2 separate regions of the Homo sapiens genome follow, and region 1 is linked to region 2. The links are contacts of gene promoters, found by promoter capture Hi-C in blood cells and fetal thymus (Javierre and others, 2016). All regions are on one chromosome and are shown on one strand. Each heading gives the region's core, a stretch centred on a gene start or on the middle of the fragment in contact. The rest is flanking DNA. Distances are from core to core; before and after follow the strand shown. Region 1 holds the start of LOC124909353 (a long non-coding RNA gene). Region 2 holds the start of UBE2E1 (ubiquitin conjugating enzyme E2 E1).

Region 1 (6,507 bases), core at 781-3,280, 140 kb before region 2:
TTTTCATTTTGAACTCAGATGTATCCACTTTTTGAGTTCAGCTTTCTTTTGCATCCTGTCTAAGAAATCCTTGCCTGTCCCTAAGATTAAATATTGTAAAGTTTTATATAGGTCTTCAGTCCATGAGGAATTTATTTCTATATGGTGGGCAAGGTGGAGACCTAATTTTATTGTATTTTTTCCATTTCAATAGCCAGCTGTCCTAATATCCTGATTTGTAGGGCCATTGCTATCACATCCCAAGTCCCAAATATAACTAGGATGGTTTCTGTGATCTTTATTCAGTCCTATTTATTGTATCTTTTTTCTATCTTTCTACCCGGTTTATCTACACAGCTGCCAGGATATAGTAAGTCTATGAAGTGGTTATTTGATTTAATCAAAATATGCATGGAAGGCTATAAGTAATTTTTTGGTTTCATGAAAGAGCGCTGAGGAAGGTGAAGACTGCACTTCTCTTTGGATGGGGTTTAGTAAATGTTAAATGAAACCAAGAACCAGATAAGGAAGGGTTGGGGGTATGGGAGAAAAGAACTCAAATTTGTTGAGCACCTAAAACTGTGCCAAGCGTAATCTTGGCTTGTTGTGTTAATCATTTCATCTTCTGTGCTTTGAAATCAGTTTTATTTGTTCCCATTTTACAGATGAGAAAACAGGAGACGCAGAGGAATGAATAACTTGCTCAAAGTCATATAGTGAGTGGGTAGGAGGGTTGGGAATGACACTTAAGTCTGTCTATCCCCCAAAGACTTTGACATCTCTGCCACAAAAACTAAAGAATGTTTGGCTGGACAGAACATCTCATCTGGGATACTGATGCTTCTCGTCTAGGAGAAGTCACTTCACCCCAACTCATTTGAGTTTAGGGCTGGGAGTAGATGGTGGCCCTCAGCAGAGCTCAGGTTTGCTGACATCTGTTACAGTGCACCAGGCAGTTTACATACATCATCTAATTACCTCAACAACAGTCCTGCAAAGGAGAAATGATTAGCCTACAATTTCAGACAAGGAGACTGGGCTACAGAGACAATAAGCATTTTCCCAAAGTCACACTGCTATGAAGGTGTATTTTCAGGGCCGCAGCTGGTCTATACACCTTCATGTACATTAGATTACAAAGTCAGCTCCTACTCCTTCCCCCTTACTCCTAGGGAAGTAAATGTTGAATGAAACCAAGCTCTACAGAGGCTTGACTGGCAGAGTGTAGGCTGGATTTCAACCTGCCGACTGAAATCCGTGCATGGAGGCTTGACCCTAGGTTGGTCTGACTCCAAAAGCTTGTTCCATTTCTGGTACATCCCATTGTTTTAGACTAGTCCTCACAAACTTTTATGGTTCCACACCATTCAGTTGAGACAAAAGACTGTAATGGTCCACCCATTTCAACCTTCCATGGAAGAGCAACTAGATAGTAACAAGAAGAGGTTGTTTACATGTAGATGTTTTATTTAGCTGTAGCTGTGGTTAACCACGATGCATACTAGGTCATGAAATCTGTTTATTAGGAAAAAAAGTAAGTCAAAGTCGTGATGCCAAGTGTTTTCACAGCCGGACCTCTTAGGAGAGGACAAAATAGAGTTCTGTGCATCCTCAAGTATGGTGCTAATTTTGTTTATAAATTCCTAGTAAGAAGACCTGAGTGGTACATAAAAATGGAAGTCGGTGAAGGAGTTGCATTTTTTAATTAGCTCACAGCCACCAGAGACCTCACTTTGAAAACCACTTCCTTAAACAAAAACAAAAGTCAGACCACACTGACTTTCTTTGAATTCCCAGTAGAAATCCTAGTATGGGAATATTCGGGAGCGTTTATTACCGAGTACATAGATGAGCTGTTCCCCATTCTTTCCAGATGTAGACACTTTTCTGAGCTGTGTCCACATGACAATGGCTTGTCGAGGCACACAAACCACAGGCACAGATCTGAAATGATGGCAGCCCACTCGCTTATAGAGAAAGAGACAACCCGAATGTAGAACCGGAAGGAGCCATGAGAACTGGAATCGGATTATCCCATAAGAAATGATAAAACGGTTGTTATAGCCGTGCCAGAAATATGACCAACTAGAAAGAGTGGGGACAAATGACTTGATGGAAGTTTTAGGGGAAAAAAAAATAGATTCCACGTGTCTTAAATCCAGATATTGTTCTCAAAAGACCATGTTTAATAGCTGAGTGAAGCAAAGAACAAAATAATGCCCTTCAGGGAGAAATAGAGAACCTGAAACCAATAACAGCCTCCTCTACATTTATGGCTTTTCCTGACTGAGCAGCTATTGGCTCAAACTTAATGGAGTTAAGGCATTTATTACCACATTTTCTTTTTACCTGGATTCTTGTTGGCCTCCTTAGCTAATTTTTTTTAGTTCAGTACCTGTCCTTCAGGCTATCTTTCCATAAAAAAGGCAGCAAAATGATGAACTTTTCTGCATTGTTCTGGGCAAAGAAATGACCACTTCATTTGCTTTTCGGAGAGGGGATCCTGTTTTTCTTTTTGTACAGTCCTCACTCTGACCAAGAGCGTGCAGCACCTGGATCTGGTGATTCAGATGTTCTGTGACCCCAGCTTCAGTCCTCAAGGATTCCTTTCTATTTGGACTGAGGGCCGTGGGTGTCTTTTCAGTGATGAGACTGAAAAGCAAAAACTCATTCTCAGTTTGCTGCTCTTGGTGTTCCTCTGGTTGCATTTTCCAACTCCGTCTGTGACCCAGCTGTGTTCTCAACAATACCTCAACTTGATGGGGCTTGGCACTTGTTTCTTTTCGTCAATGGTGTGTTATGAATAAAGCTTGTAAAAGCTGCTTCCTTGGAAACTGTTAACATGGTCTCATCCCACAGGCCAAGTTTTGCAGCCCTTTGCTATCCTTATCTATAGTAGACCAACTCAAAGTTCCTAACTGCCTTTTATAAAAGAGCTTGGAACTCCATGGTTCCTGGCAATGAGTGCAAAAATTTGACATTTCTATTAGCAAGAAAATATGAGAAAATATTTCTTGTTTTACCTTGCCCCTTCCCCTGAATTCCTGTCTTACCAAAGGAAAAAAAAAAAAAAAGAGTTAAAATCTAATGCATCTCAACTAATGTGGGCAACTAGCAGTTTTGCTTTTTTAGCCAAAGAACTCTACCCCCACTGCTGCCCATTAAGTAGTAAACAGGCCAAATAAGGAAATGATTAATCTTGCCAAGTTCACTCACCATAATTTGGTTGGCAAGCTTTAGCGAACATGGTATAATAGAATTTCAACACTGGAAGAGATTTGAAAAGTCATATAGTCCAACCATCCAACGGATGCTTAAATGTCGTCCTCTGTGCAGCAGTGGCTCTGAATCCTGGCTGCACATCACAACATCACAATAACTGCAAACACTTGTTCAAAATAAAAGTCATTGGGCCTCACTTCCGTGAGATTCTGATATAGTAGGCCTGGGATGGACCTGCTTATTTTGAATAACACCCAGGCGAATTGATGTAGCCACTCCACAGAACAGTGCTGCAGCCTTTGGGGAACAGGCCAAGTATCAAAAGCCTTTGCTTGGTCTTCTGCAGCACCTGGTCCTCACTATCTTCCAAAGTATCCGAATTTGGGCAGCTCTGACTGTTGACAAAATGTGTCCTCAGTCTCCGTGGAAATATTTCTCCTTACAACTTCTACCTATTGACTCTACTGCTACCCCTTGGAATGACACAGAGCCAGTCTAACCACCGGTGAGCCTTCAGGTATTGGAAGATGGCACTCATGGATCTCTTCTGAGATCTCCTCTCCAAACCCAACATCTTCCTACTCTGTAAGAGCTCCCTTATGGCTGGTTCTGACCTTTTTCCCCAGTGGATTTCCTCTCCTGAGGATGGATCTGACTTCGGGATTTTAAATTCAGTAAATCTAAATTCTAATGCAAGCTCTTCCTCTTACTAGCTGTATGGTTTGGGGCATGATAGTCAGCTTTTATGACCCTCCACTTAGTCATCTGTAAAGTGGAGATGATGCTACTGATTGCAGGGTTGATTGTGGGGCCAGCACAGAGCCTGTCACACAGCAGTTCCCCAGGTCAGTCTCCTTCCACCAAGTAGATATGTGAAAATATTATATATGTGGCTCACATTACATTTCTATTCAATAATGCTAATCAAAACATTATATTCCAAGAGAAAGTTGCTGTCCAAGACAGAGTCAGAGCAGAAATCTCATGGAAGTCTTTGGAATTTCTGACAAAATTTCAGGGAGTGTGGAACAAGGGTTGAGCTGGTCATACCTACGCCAGTGATTCTTTTGTTTTTGTTGTTTTTTTTTTTTTTTTTTTTTTTTTTTTTTGAGACAGAGTCTAGCTCTGTCACCCAGGCTGGAGTGTAGTGGCACTATGTTGGCTCACTGCAACCTCTGCCTCCTGCATTCAAACGATTCTCCTGCCTCGCCTCCTAAGTAGCTGGGATTACAGGCACCCGGCTAATTTTCGTATTGTTAGTAGAGATGGGGTTTCACCATGTTGGCCAGGCTGGTCTTGAACTCCTGACCTCAAGTGATCCGCCTGCCTCGGCCTTCCAAAATGCAGGGATTACAGGCGTGAGCCACCTCGCCCAGCCGCCAGTGGTTCTTAAACCCTGTTGTATGTTAAAATCACTTGGGAAATTTATAGAAATCCTAATGTGGCGCTCCATTTCAATCAGAATCTCTAGGGGTGGGACCCAGTAGTTTTAAAACTTCCAAGGGGATTCTGATGCAGGTAGGGTTGAAAACCAGTGATCTTGACAGTGCTTCTCCTATCAGCCTTCCATGCTGGCTGTCCTGCATTCAAACATCCTGAGCACACAGCCCACAGCCCAGGGTCCTCCACGCTCCCTCCTGAAGTTATATGGTAGGTGTTCAGTTTTCCATAAAGCCGCCTTGACACATGTAGCTTGCCTCCTATCCTCTGCCCCGAAGTTGTTGATGCTTGATTTATGGACTATCTTGTGTTATTTATTGTGGGGGATACATTCTAATAAATACATTGTTAGGTGATTTTGTCATTGTGCGAACATCAGAGTGTACTTACACAAACCTTGGTGGCATAGCCTACTACACACCTAGACTGTATATAGCCTATTGCTCCTAGGCTACAAATCTGTACAGCATGTTACTGTACTGAGTACTGTAGGCAGTTATAACACAATGGCATTTGTGTATCTTGACATAGAAAAGGTACAGTAAAAATACAATATAAAAGATTTAAAATGGTAGACTTGTATAGGGCACTTACTGTGAATAGAGCTTGAAGAACTCAAAGTTACTCTGGATGAGTCAGTGAGTGAGTGGTGAGTGAATGTGAAGGCCTAGAACATTACGCTATTGTAGACTTTACAAACACTGTATACTTAGGCTACATTAAATTTATTTTAAAATTTTTTCTTTCTTATACAATAAATTAACCTTAGCATATATATATATATATATATATATATATATTTTTTTTTTTTTTTTTTTTTTTTTTTTTGAGACAGAGTCTTGCTCTGTCACCCAGGCTGGAGTGCAGTGGCGCGATCTCAGCTCACTGCAACTGCCGCCTCCTGGGTTCAAGTGATTCTCCTGCCCCGACCTCCTGAGTAGCTGGGATTACAGGGACGTGCCACCACTCCTGGCTATTTTTTTTTTTTTTTTAGTAGAGATGGGGTTTCACCATGTTGGCCAGGCTGGTCTCAAACTCCTGACCTCAAGTGAACCACCCCTCTCAGCCTCCCAAAGTGCTGGGATTACAGGCGTGAGCCACCGTGCCCAGCCAGCTTAATATAATTTTTTAACTTTATAAACTTAAAAAAAATTCAACTTTTTGACTCTTTTGTAATAACAGCCTAAAACACAAACACATTATACAGCGTACAAAAAATATTTTTATATCTGTATTCTATAAGCTTTTTTCTATTAAAATTTTTTTTAACTTTTAAAACTTCTTTCTTAAAAATCAAGACACAAGAACGCACACTCTCCTAGGCCTGCACAGGGTCAGGATGATCAATATCACTGTCTCCCACTTCCATATCTCGTCCCACTGGAAGGTTTTCAGGGGCAGTAATATGCATGGAGCTGAAAACGCCTATGATAACAATGCCTTCTTCTGGAATACCTCCTGAAGGACCTGCCTGAGGTTGCTTTACAGTTAACATATTTCTAAGTAGAAGGAGTACACTCTAAAATAATGATAAAAAGTATAGTATGGTAAATACATAAACCAGTAACCTAGTCATTTATTATCAAGTACTATGTGTTATTCATAATTGTATGAGCTAGACTTTTAGTTGACTGGCAGCGCAGTAGGTCTGTTTACACCAGCATCACCACAAACACATGAGTAATGTGTTGTGCTATGATGTTACAATGACAATAGCATTACAACAGCTTTGCGTCACTAGATGATAGGAATTTTCAGCTCCATGATAATCTTATATATGGAGACCACTGTCATACATGCGGCCCATTGTTGACCAAAGCGTTATGTGGCACATGATTGTAGTTGTTTATAGTCAGCATCCCTTCT
Region 2 (6,622 bases), core at 3,263-5,762:
ACTCATCACCACACCCAGCTAATTTTTGTATTTTTAGTAGAGACGGGGTTTCACCATGTTGGCCAGGGTGGTCTCAAACTCCTGACCTCAGGTGATCCGCCCACCTCAGCCTCCCAAAGTGCTGGGATTACCAGTGTGAGCCACCACGCCCAGCAAAGGAAATCCTTTCTATTCAGCAATAAGGTAAGTTAAAAAACTATATTAACCAACGTTAACTTGCTTGACAATTCTTTGGACATGAAATTGGCCAAAGAGAATCTTTATGAAATACTTGAATTTCAGTGTAAGCAACAAGTCAAAAAGTTAAACCAAGTCTCCCTCTTTCAACTGTATTATTTCACCTCCTAGGGATCAACTAGCACCTTGATCTTCAAGTGTTTCTACTTAAATGTACTTGATACACTAAAGATGACTTGAAGGAGAGTTGGGTCATTCTGAAAACCAGGAATAGGTATTAATAAAAACTGGAGCCCACTTTCTCAAAGTCCACAGGATGTCACAGTGTAATACTACTTGGGCTTCTGTGACTGGCTGGTTTTCTAAAATGTAAATTGAGCATTACTATCAAAGCATTCAGTGCATATGTATGCATTTGCTTTACACATGCATAGACTACAACCGAAAACTGCTTTCTCCAAAGGAAATTAGGGGTGGGGGAAGGGGCAGAAAGATATTTTCGTGGCATACTCTCTGGTTTCTTTAGAATAATATAGCATGAAAATGTATTATCTATTTAAAATATATCCATATAGGCAAAATAAATAAATAATGAGGACTATTCTCAGGATGAGGGTGGGGTTGGGGAACTTCAATAGCAGTCATTAGTTCAAGCAACCATGTTACAAATTCAGTGATTCCCTTAGCTTGCTTCCATGTTCCCACTTTCCCAGCTGTCTTGATTGTTAATATATTCTCGAAAATATTATCAGAGACTACTATATTTATTTTATTTATTTACTTATTTTGAGACAGGGTCTCACTCCCACCACCCAGGTTGGAGTACAGTGGCACAATCACAGCTCACTGCAGCCTCAACCTCTGGGGCTCAGGTGATTCTCCCACCTCAACCTCCCAAGTATCTGGGACCACAGGCATGTGCCACCAGGCCTGGCTAATTTTTGCATTTTTTGTAGAGACAGTCTTGCCATGTTGCCCAGGCTGGTCTTGAACTCCTGGGCTCAAGGAGTCTGCCTGCCTTGGCCTCCCAAAGTGCTGGAATTACAGGCGTGAGCCACTGCACCCGGCCCTTTTATATTTAATACATTTTTCTGCAATGTAATTGAGGCTCTTCTCCCACTCCAATATTGCCAGAACTGACAAGATCATCTGTGGATAGCATGGGTCATAACAACAATTTTGCCACCAACTTACTGCATGACCTTGGATAAGACATACTGGCTTTTTTTTTTTTTTTTTTTTTTTTTTTTTTGAGACAGAGTCTTGCTCTGTCCCCAGGCTGAAGTGCAGTGGCGCGATCTCGGCTCACTGCAACCTCCAATCAAGACTCGCTGGTTCAAGAGATTCTCTTGCCTCAGCCTCCCGAGTAGCTGGGATTCCAGGCACATGTCACCAAGCCTAGATAATTTTTGTATTTTTAGTAGAGACGGGGTTTCACCATCTTGGCCAGGATGGTCTCAATCTCCTGACCTCGTGTTCCACCTGCTTTGGCCTCTCAAAGTGCTGGGATTACAGGCATGAGCCACCACGCCCGGCCAACATACCGGCCAACATAACTTTCTTTGCTTTGATTTCTTTATCTGTAACATGAAGAGTGTGAACTAGAAGATATCTTAGGCCCCTTCTAGGCATAAAATACTATGATTCCTTGAGTATATGTTTCTCCTGGAAGGTTTCTTATATTTTCATCAATTCTAAGTTATAAAAACCCCATGTCCTCTTTTCTGCCCTGGTGACGAAAAACAAAAACATAAAAGCAACAAATAACCCCAAACCCATGAACTAAGAAAATTCCACTAGAGTGGAATTATTAATAATTTACTTTGCGTAACAGCTAATAAATCACCTTACTTACAGATACATATTTGACCTTGCCAGTCAGTAGAGCACAGGTATTTCTGCCCTTTATGGATGAGGGAACTGAGGCTCAGGGAGGTCAATTTAGCTTTTTAGGCCTTGTAGTTAATAAGAAGGAGAGATAGAAAGTTGTGTATGAATTTTTTTTCCCCTAAGACAGCTGCATACAGGTCTTAAAAATAATTCGACATAAAGATTAGTCTTTTGAGAGGACTGGATTCTTTTCTAAACATTTTGAAGTTTTTATTCCCTGTCATCAGGTCATTCCAAAACGATAAAGCACTAACTTAAGCTAGCTGGAATTAGAGATTAGGGGGAACAGTACACAAAAGAGGGCAAGAAACCTTCCAGACAGGTGGTTGGGAAATCACTTTTCCTTATAGGAGGAGCTGTTAGATTTCATGATTTCTTTCACAAGGAATCAGTCCAACCCAAGCATCAGTAACACAACACAAAATATCATGTTCTGTTACAAAAGAATTCTTATTATAGCTGGTAGGCAATTTATGCAAACCAATATTAAAGAAAAAATTCACCTACTGTCCTGATCACTTCAGCAAATCAAACCTTTTATTTTCCTGTGATCTCTGCTAGTTCTTGTCTTTATAACACATGATTTTTTTACTGGTTGTATTCATAATGTAGACATATATTTTTAAGTATCAGAAATCCAAATTTTCATAGGAGGAAATTTCAATTTTAATAACTATTTTTAGATTATTTTCCTCATCCTGAGTTTATTTCATCTTCTTATTGTTTTCTTCTGAATTTACATCTTTTCATCAGAACAAAAAGAATACAATCAGTTTTTCAGAAGTTTAAAAAATTTTTTCAAATATATAGCAAAGAATGTCATCATTTTTATATACTCTACCAGGACTCCTGAAACCAAACACTTAAGAAAGGTTATGTCTGGAAATTTTTTCAAAATCTATATGCATTTCAGTGGTGGAGAAATAGTTCTGTCTGGAAGCAGGAGGCTGAAATTATGACCCTGAAGATTTCTTCCAGCTTTTGAACTTCTTATTCTATGACAACTCCTGGTAGATACAGGTTTCCTGGTAGGGATTGAGCAAGAAGCATGCACAATTACTTTATGAGTCTTGATAAAGCTGGAATTTCAGGTTGATGGTTAGAAGGAGTTCGGCTGGGTCGTGAGAATGCTTGTTTTCCTGGTTACTGGATATGCCATGGGCTGTATATCTTGTGTTGTCCTGTGGTAACTGAAGCCACTGTTGCTGTGGAAAATGATGGCAGTTTGAATGAGATAATTTAGAGTGACCTATGGAAATCTGAGGCTGTCTCCTTAATGTACAAGACCTTGTATGTGTGGCACTGTTGTATTTGAATGGCACACATCTCTTTAGTTCCCTTCAACTGAAATGACAAAAGGTGAGAAACTGAATCGTAATTTGATGGCTTAATATTAAAAAAAAATTGGCAAAAATGCTAAATAAGGAACAATTCAGAAGAATTGCTGATCATTTCAAAAATATTATTTGCATAGCATTTATAGGTAGCTAAAGAAAGAGAAAAATGGCTTAATATTTTAAAAATAATTTGGTCAATTTAGCGATCTGGGGATTCTGCGATCCCCAGAACTTTGCATCCAATTTCCAAAAACCAAACCTTACATCTAATGTAAAATGACACAAAAAATTCTAAATCCAGTCTAATTCAGTAGTATATAGCTTATTCCCAGTGATGTCTCACATTCGCAAGCCCGTTACACGTTGGTTTTACCTGTCACCAAAACCTTTGTATCACTCTTATAAAAAACCACATCACTTTCTATAAAAAGTGAGTGGAAGAATCTAATATTGTAAAACTGCACGTGCCTCGCGTGACCTGAGCAGAAAATTCCTAGTTTGGGATTTTCTCACAGGCATACCTAAACTGACCTCTGCTCCTAGCAGGTAAATTGCTAGAAGGAGAAGCAAGTGTCAGTCCAAAGAAAACCCTTGTTGTGTGATTTTTTTTTTCTCTTTAATCGCTTTTTAGGTGGAGTACCCGCTGCATTCTCTAAAGTCTTTGCCACCACCAGATTACCAACGTTTTCACCAATTTGCCACCTCCCTACTCCTCTCCTTTCCAAAAGCCCTCATTGGAAAGAACTTTCTCTCGTGACCCCCCTATTCCATCTAGTTCCAATCACTCCCAGCGCCCCCCATCTCCATCGGCTTCCCCTCTCCCGCCCAGAATCCAGGTTCCCAAACCACTTAAGAGAAAATTCACAACCCTCGCCCCCTTCCCGGGCGTCCGGAGGAGGCGCTGGGGTGGGGGTGTCTGTGGGGGACAGGGTTTCCTGGGGTCTCCTGGGTCTTCCTCGCGCACCCCCAGGAGGTGTTGCAGGGGGAGGGGAGCGCGGGTGGGTGGGACCGGGCCGGGTGGGGGAGGGGTGAGGGCGAGGAGGAGGAGGAGGAGGAGGCGGCGGCGGAGGAGTGGTGTGTGTGCGAGCGTGTGTGGCTGGGGGAAGCCATTGCCTGTTTAATAGTTGCTGTTGCTGCACTTCCGCTTCTCTCCCAGCGAGAGAGAGACACGAGTGGCCAGGCCCAGCCGCAGCCGCAGCAGCAGCCGCCGCGGCGGCACGGAGGAGCCAGACACAAAGAGAGGTACGGGGATCCCCCCAGCGGCCCGCCGCCCCCCGGCCGCGCCGCCGGGCCTCGGGGACACCCCTCGCCGCCTCCCCCGACTCGCGCCGCCGGGGCCGCCGGGCCGCAGGGCACGGGGCCGGCGCGGGGGGGGAGCGGAGAGGGGCTGGGGAGCCCCAGGGGTCCGGGGCCCGCCCGCGGGGGATGGGCAGGGACCCCGGGCCGCGTGGGGTGCGGGGGCCGCCCGCATTGAGGACGGGGGTCATTGTGGCTCGAACTGTCAGCGCTGCCCCAAGAGCCCCCCACTGGCCACCGAGGGGCCCGGGAGCGGGGGTGGGAGGGAGTTGGGGGAGCCCCGTTTTCCCCAGGGGCGGGGGTTCGCGGGGATTAACCCCTCCGGGGCGGAAGGGCTCATTGTTATGTCTTCGCTGCGGAGGCCGACCCCCCCATTCCCCGCCGCAGCCCCTATCCCCCTACAGGAGTGGCGATCGGGCGTGTGCTCCGGACCCCCGCCCGGCCGCATAGCTGTGAGCAGGGCGGCCAGAGGCAGGCAGGCCGGGAGGGGCGTCGGGGCGCGGCGCGGGGGGGCCTCGGGCCTCGTCGCCCCTGCCCCCCGCCGGCCTCTCCCTTCCCCCACCCGGGCACCCGCTCCCCGCCTCCGTCCCCCTGTTTCGGCTTCCTCTCTTACTCCTTCCCGCCCCTCCTCTCTTCCCGACCTCGCCAAACTCCGCTCGTGGCCCCACAGTCTCACCCGGGCCACCGGCCCCTCACGACCCCCGGAAAGCGGACAAAAACAGCCCCGAGGCCGGCCGGCCGCCGGGACCTTCCCTCCCTGCCCCGCCGTGGCGCCCCGCGCCCCCCGCCCTGCCCTCCTTCGCCTCCCGGGCTACTCCCTCCCTGCCCAGCGGAGAGCCCCGGGGGGCGAGGGAGGGGCCTCTCTCCTAGCTCCAGACCGTTTTCCCACAGCGTTCCCCACTTGGGGCCAAAAATAAACAAGCCGCGTCCGATTTGCAAAAGCCTTAATGGGCCTGCAGACTTTGAAAAGCGAGTGGAGGGCGGTGGGCGGCCGCGTGCGCCCCTGGTCAATGCCCTCCTGACAGCACCCGAGTTCCTTATTTACACTGGCTGCATGGTTTGTGTGTTTCTGTTTTGTTTCTCTCCCCCTGCAGGGGCTGTTTGCGGGGTGGGGTGGGGGGTTCGCTATGTCGGATGACGATTCGAGGGCCAGCACCAGCTCCTCCTCATCTTCGTCTTCCAACCAGCAAACCGAGAAAGAAACAAACACCCCCAAGAAGAAGGAGAGTAAAGTCAGCATGAGCAAAAACTCCAAACTCCTCTCCACCAGCGCCAAGAGGTACTGTGCTCTTTTTTTTTTCCACAGGCTTCCTATTTCCGAACTGCCTCTTGCTGCATTTGGTCTGCCTCCCAATGAGGATAGCTTAAACGCTCCTCATGGTTTATGTGTTCTTAAAAATGAAAGAAGGGCCTTGGAAGCCCTAATTATTTTCTCTATTGCTGCTTCTGTTTTTAAATCATTGCTCACATGCAGCTGTTGCGGCTTGCCTCTCGCATTTCTTGCTGAAGTTTGTAAGATTCCTCGTTACTTTTATTAGTGACCCCCAAATCTGATTTCAGATTTCTTGTCCTACTAATGGTTAATCTGTGACCTTCCCCAAGGCCATGATCCCATTTCTTAATTACTAATACCAGCCCAGAGAACTGCATCAAAATGAATTCTGTGACCATTTTACCTTCTCCTCACCTGTTGCATGGATGATCTTTTCTAAATAGAGCTTTCTTCACAAATTGCATAAGGAATAAGAAACTCATATTAGCAGGTACAAAATTTAGTAGGTGAAGACAGATGTTTTCTGGTGGAATTTAAAGAGATTTTTCTGAGAGTTGAGGCAAATGAATGAATCAGTAAGTGACTATAAAATGGTTATTCTAGGTTATTTTTGTGGTTCTCTTTAAAAACTTCAGTTTACCAATTTCAG

Evidence for each region. Contacts are between HindIII fragments. The CHiCAGO score rates a contact against its expected background, and 5 or more counts as called.
Region 1: a fragment that was not itself captured here is called in contact with the fragment with the promoter of UBE2E1 in region 2 in 1 of 17 cell types (monocytes); the score reaches 6.0 in monocytes.

What each region holds. Positions count from the first base shown.
Region 1 is chr3:23,660,671-23,667,177 of GRCh38, forward strand. LOC124909353 (a long non-coding RNA gene) reads left to right here and starts at 5,445. Exons shown (of 2, transcript XR_007095844.1): 1 at 5,445-6,507. The HindIII fragment of the contact is 1,511 bases long and covers 1,276-2,786 here.
Region 2 is chr3:23,801,443-23,808,064 of GRCh38, forward strand. It overlaps UBE2E1 (ubiquitin conjugating enzyme E2 E1), which reads left to right and starts at 4,513. Exons shown (of 6, transcript NM_003341.5): 1 at 4,513-4,646; 2 at 5,795-5,979. The coding sequence starts at 5,828. UBE2E1-AS1 (UBE2E1 antisense RNA 1) reads right to left here and starts at 5,463. Exons shown (of 2, transcript NR_046652.1): 1 at 5,377-5,463; 2 at 2,582-3,272. RefSeq lists silencers at 4,449-4,558, 4,639-4,768, 4,959-5,258, 5,459-5,638 and an enhancer at 5,939-6,028. The HindIII fragment of the contact is 12,732 bases long and covers 1-6,622 here.